Regions from separate parts of the Homo sapiens genome. Here region 1 is linked to region 2. Evidence: promoter capture Hi-C in 16 types of primary human blood cells and fetal thymus (Javierre and others, 2016). All regions are on one chromosome and are shown on one strand. Each heading gives the region's core, a stretch centred on a gene start or on the middle of the fragment in contact. The rest is flanking DNA. Distances are from core to core; before and after follow the strand shown. Region 1 overlaps GFM1 (G elongation factor mitochondrial 1). Region 2 holds the start of RARRES1 (retinoic acid receptor responder 1).

Evidence for each region. Contacts are between HindIII fragments. The CHiCAGO score rates a contact against its expected background, and 5 or more counts as called.
Region 1: a contact is called between a fragment that was not itself captured here and the fragment with the promoter of RARRES1 in region 2, in 3 of 17 cell types (neutrophils, erythroblasts and megakaryocytes). The highest score is 7.9, in neutrophils.

What each region holds. Positions count from the first base shown.
Region 1 is chr3:158,656,419-158,659,490 of GRCh38, reverse strand. It overlaps GFM1 (G elongation factor mitochondrial 1), which reads right to left. Exons shown (of 18, transcript NM_024996.7): 9 at 432-569. Among named protein-coding and RNA genes, the nearest start is that of GFM1, 13 kb to the right of the region's middle. The HindIII fragment of the contact is 1,588 bases long and covers 641-2,228 here.
Region 2 is chr3:158,730,902-158,733,777 of GRCh38, reverse strand. It overlaps RARRES1 (retinoic acid receptor responder 1), which reads left to right and starts at 1,321. Exons shown (of 6, transcript NM_206963.2): 1 at 1,321-1,638. The coding sequence starts at 1,363. It overlaps LOC100287290 (a long non-coding RNA gene), which reads right to left and starts at 1,417. Exons shown (of 5, transcript NR_171782.1): 1 at 1,250-1,417. RefSeq lists an enhancer at 869-1,369 and a silencer at 1,447-1,506. The HindIII fragment of the contact is 14,465 bases long and covers 1-2,876 here.

The DNA.
Region 1 (3,072 bases), core at 185-2,684, 74 kb after region 2:
CTTTTGTGCCTGCCGTATTTCAGAAGGTAAATAAAACAATGTGGAAAACTGTGTAAATTTATTATTCTCTTATCTTTAAGAATCACAGTTCCACAGTCTTAAATGCCTATTACATTTTTTGTAATAATAGTTCTTGAGGAAAGTGCTGAATCTTGTATTCTGAGTGTTGGGGAACTGTCTCTTTCCTTAACCTTGGCCCTTGAGAAAATATAGCTAATTCACAACTAGCGGTATTAAAAAAAATGAGTTAACAACTGCTAATTTATCCTATAGCAAAGTGCTAGATCAGAGCTACAACACATTTAAGTAGAAAGAAACTAGAAACATATATTTAACCAGAATTAATTTTCTAGTGGGGCTCAGGATACCAAGAAGGGTCTATTTCACCCACATCAGAGGAATTTCTAATCTCACAATGACTCTGTACTTGCCTCCATCATGTCGGCATGCATGCGAGCCAGCCGTTGCAACCGTACTTTCTTTCTTGTCCTTGTGTTATAGATGGTGTCACCCTTCTTTAGCTCTCCCTGATAACTGCGAACATAAGTTAATTGTCCAAATCGACCTACCTAGAAGTCAAGATTGGGTAAGGGCAGGAAGAATAAAAAGAAACATAATAATCAAAGTATTGAGGAAAGCTTCATAACTCCCTCCAAGTATTCTCTACCAATTTTAGTAATCTATCTTACATATTTCAGTTTATTGTCATAAACTAATACTAGCTTTGAACACAGATAAGATAAATGGCTGTTATTCATCAATCCTTTTGGTATCACAATCTAAGACATTTCTGTTTCCTTTGAAATAAGCTATTACATTAGAACAAAATTTTTAAGTTGTTTACATAATAAGGAAGTATCTTTTGCCTTCTAACATTTCATAAGTTTAATACAATAAGATATAAAACAAAAAAAAGGTATACTTGGAAAAACAACAAAGATACTATTAGAAACAGTAGGTGTGTGCTATACATCTAAAACACAATCTCTGACAATCACGTGGAAAATTATGTGAGTAAGAGTTCTGTGGCTGGGCTGGTCGCTCAGGCCTGTAATCCCAGCACTCTGGGAGGCAGAGGCGAGCGGATCACCTGAGGTCAGGAGTTCAAGACCAGCCTGGCCAACATGGCAAAACCCCACCTCTACTAAAAATACAAAAATCAGCCAGACGTGGTGGCACACCTATAATCCCAGCTACTCGGGAAGCTGAGGCAGGAAAATTGCTTAAACCCAGGAGGCGGAGGTTGCAGTGAGCCGAGATCGCACCACTGCACTCCAACCTGGGCAACAGAATAGGTGAGACTCTGTCTCAAAAAAAAAAAAAAAAAAAAAAAGAGTTCTGTGAAGTGATTGAATATACTAGCAGTGACCAATTAACATATATTTAACAGTTCCCAGTTCTTACCATGTTAATTATAGGCTTAACAAAATAGCAATCGAAATCCCAACAGGAAATTTTAAACATGATTAGTGATTTTAAAATTCATTCAGAGGAATAAATAGGTAAAAACAGAAATTTTTCAAAAACTATGGTAATAAGATAAAACTAACCCTGACAGATATAAAAACATATTAAAATGCTTGAAACTCAGAAAATTCAGAACCAGCACAAATTAGACTAAACACCCCACAGAGTACAGTATAAAAATCTAAAGTATAAAATATATTTGTCAATAGATGATAAAGAAACATGACAAATCAATGGAAAAGGAAGAAAGGATTGTGCATAAAGTACTAACTGGACAACTGATACTCTATTTGGAGGCAGAGGAGATACATTTAGATCCTACCCACTAAAACAAATTCCAGTTGAATTAATGATGGGGAAAGAAAAAAAACATAAAGAAGTAGAAGGAACGAAAGTAAATATTAACAAAATATATACAAATAAAAGGTTGCTAAGGTTAAAAATTAATGAATGACTAAACAGAAAGACTGACATATTCGACTATACAAACTTTAAAGCACTGATTGCTTTTAAAAATCAAAATTTATTTCATCAAGATAAAAGATTACAATAGAATTCTTCATTTGTTAAATCAGTAATGATTTTTAAACAATACTCAATGATGATATTCATTGAAATAATCCAATACATTAATTTGGAGAGTATGAACGCAATCTGGCAATATAAACCATTAACTATGAAAACATTCTATGCCTTTAACTCAATAATCACTATTCTGGGAATCCTAAGAAAATATTCTTATATATGTATTTTTAAAAGCTTTATGTGTAAATACTTTTACTGTAATGTTATTTCCACTTTTTAATTAAAAAAATTTTCCCCTCATTTTGGAGGTAATAAATATACTGTAAAATATTTTTAAAGTAAGAAAAAGCCCCCAAAATATAATCCCATCCCAGAAATAACCACTCTTAACACTTCCAACTTATCTACCATTTTTCCCCACTTAAAATATTATGTACAGAAGCAACAGCATTTCAACAAAAAGCCCATCCAGTCCCCAAATCTTGGTTTCTAATACCATTTTACTTAAAAAGGAACCAGTGCTCCTTGGAGAACGGCTGATTCTAGGGTTAGGGCATGGAATATACAAGATAAGCCTGAGGCGTCTTGTAGTGCCAGCAAGTAAGGAAGTATTCAAAAAGGCAAAACATTGGAAGATGTTAAAGGAACACAGGAGCCAACTGAGAGTTCCCAATCGCCAAACCCAGCCAATCTGAACAACAAATGACATACTCAAAGTCATAGTTATAACTCAAAGTTCAAAATACATATACGTGAGTCCACGCTGATATTAAATAAGTGATTGTCCAAATAGATAAATAAGCAGGGAAGAAAGACAAATCTCCCTTTCAGAAGAATTCCAAATAACTTATGTAGATAGTGCCCCCTTCAAGGGGGTGGAACATAATTCCCCCCTCAAGTGTTGGCTGAGCCAAGTGACTTCCTTCTAAAAAGTACACTATGAAAAGGGGAATAAAAAGAGTACAGTAACTTTACAGCAGAGAAACCTGTCAAACACTATCTCAGCCAGGTGTGGTGATTGAGGTTAGCATTAACAATGATAAATCAGCCGGGTGCGGTGGCTCATGCCTGTAATCCCAG
Region 2 (2,876 bases), core at 72-2,571:
TTAGCCCCACAATGGCACTGGGGTCCACGTTTGGTGCAGGGGTAGACCCCTGAACAAAATGCAGGATGGAGAAATGGATGTTGGGAGTGCCTAGCAGTACCAGTTCTCCTCTCTCAGCCCTGGTTCTCCAGGACTTTTTCTCTTGCCTACGGTTTAAAAACAATGGCTATCTTAGCCCTTCACTGCCACCTGTCTAAAAAGAGTTGCCGCCGGGTACCGTGGCTCACGCCTGTAATCCCAGCACTTTGGGAGGCCCAGGCGGGCGGCTCACGAGGTCAGGAGTTTGAGACCAGCCTGACCAACATGGTGAAACCCCGTCTTTACTAAAAATACAAAAATTAGCCGGGCATGGTGGCTGTAGTCCCAGCTACTCGGGAGGCTGAGGTAGAATTGCTTGAACCTGGGAGGCGGAGGTTGCAGTGAGCCAAGATCGTGCCACTGCACTCCAGCCTGGGAGACAGAGCAAGACATGGTCTCAAAAAAAAAAAAAAAAAAAAGAGTTGCCAACACTTGCTGCCTCCATTCCCTGAAGCCCCATCCATGCCTCACCCCGCTGGAATCCGACTTCCATCCCCGGCCTTTAAATCTGCCTCGCACAGTGGTTATCAATGTATCAATGACCTACTTGCTTCTGAGACAAATGGGACTCTCAGGCCTTATCTTACCCTGCCTTGCTGCCCACTCCTCCCTCCTCGGCGCCTCTTCTGGGCAGGACCGGCAGGTGTTCAGGCCCGTCCCCAGCCCCTGGCTCCGGCGTCCCGGGCTCCCTGCCGGCATCCACCTTCACCTCCTCCCCAGCCCCAGCCCTCTGGCGACTTCTCCCACCTCCACAGTGGCTGTGCCACGAGGAGCCCCATCAATGCCCGCTGCGGCCTGCCCCTTTCTCCGCCGTCCCCTTTCACCTGCTGGGAAATCACAGCCCTAATGCTTGGAGAATCCAAGCAGTTTCCCTCTAAAACCCCAGGGTTGCGAAACCGCAGGGGAAACGCCAAGTCCCTGAGCTGGGCTAGGGACGCGGTACGAGGTAGCACGGGCGGGCCGCGATTCCTCGGGGAGGCGTCCCCATTGTCCCCCCAACCCCGACCCTCTCCCGCCGCGGCCTGGGCCAGAAGCACCCGGCCCTGCGCTGCGGAGGCGATGCCGCATCCTAGCACTAAGCCCGGGCAGCGGGGAGGGGCAGAGAGAACCCAGGGGCTGCGGGAAACGTGGAAAAGGAGTGGCCCCATGGGGACCCGGGCTCGCTACAGACCTTCGCCCTGGGGGCGGAGGGGAGGGGCCCACCACGGCCTTATTTCCGCGAGCGCCGGCACTGCCCGCTCCGAGCCCGTGTCTGTCGGGTGCCGAGCCAACTTTCCTGCGTCCATGCAGCCCCGCCGGCAACGGCTGCCTGCTCCCTGGTCCGGGCCCAGGGGCCCGCGCCCCACCGCCCCGCTGCTCGCGCTGCTGCTGTTGCTCGCCCCGGTGGCGGCGCCCGCGGGGTCCGGGGACCCCGACGACCCTGGGCAGCCTCAGGATGCTGGGGTCCCGCGCAGGCTCCTGCAGCAGGCGGCGCGCGCGGCGCTTCACTTCTTCAACTTCCGGTCCGGCTCGCCCAGCGCGCTACGAGTGCTGGCCGAGGTGCAGGAGGGCCGCGCGTGGGTGAGTGCGGAGCGACGCGCCGGGGCACGCGCCTGCCTGTCCGCGCACGGCGCTGGGAGGTGACACCTGGGTACGCGCGCCTGCCGGCCCAACGGATGGTCCGCCAGGGAAGGTGCAGTGCGCACGACGCCCGGGGAGATCCCAGCTGGGCCTGGCGCCCCTGAAGTATCCCAGGGCGTGGAAGGGGCCCCTTCGGTGCACAGCGTCTGCAGAAATCTGGCTCGTTCCTTCCAGCATTTATGAGGTCATAGGTTTTTCACAGGGCAGCGCTCTTGACTGCTCCCACACCTGGGAAAGAGATGCTTTGGGAAATTGAGGAACAGGCTGAAAGGGCAACATTTAATTTTGTCCGGAGGTACCCAGAGTTGGTTGCTATGGGGGTGCTTACTGTGCCTGCGCCCTACTAGTGGCTGCAGCCAAAGTTTTGGGCGGGATTTCCAAAATCTAAGCCAGTAGCCATACCATACCGCGGACGACTGTCTCTTGTTAATTGCAGTCCACCACGCTAGGGCTTCGGGGTAATGTGGTTGGAATTTACACGTAGGCCTGGGCAGAAACCTGCTAATGCTGGCGTCTGATTTGATCTAATTAGAAGTGAGTGAATCCGAGCCCAGTGTTCTATATGAACCGAATGAATGAGAACTTTGCAACCCGTTGTTTGGTTGCTGATTTCAAGGCATTGACTGTAGGAATTGTCTCGTATGTGTGAAGCTACTTTGCGTTCTTCATCCTATAGATTACAAAAGTTACAGAACTACACTAAGTCTGTCCCAAAAGCAAAGTTGCTCCTTCTACAACCTCCAGATATTCCACAAAGCCTGCAGACACACGGCCTCAAAGAATCTGGAATTGAGTATCGCATGTATTTAATAAATAGGTCGAGTTTTAAAGTGTAGCAGCAGGATTTTCATTTAACAGTGCCAAACGCCTGGAAGCAAACACCATTGGAAAGTCCTTCAAGAAGCTCAGCCTCGGTTCTTCAAAACTTATTCCTGTACCCGGCACGGCTGTATTTATTGAATGATTAAATCAAATTGTTCCTAGAAAAAGGCAACCTGGCCAGGCACGGTGGCTCACGCCTGTAATCCCAGCACTTTGGGAGGCCGAGACAGGTGGATCACCTGAGGTCGGGAGTTCGAGACCAGCCTGACCAACATGGAGAAACCCTGTCTCTACTAAAAATACAAAATTAGCTGGGTGTGGTGGCGCATGCCTGTAATCCCAGCTACTTGGGAGGC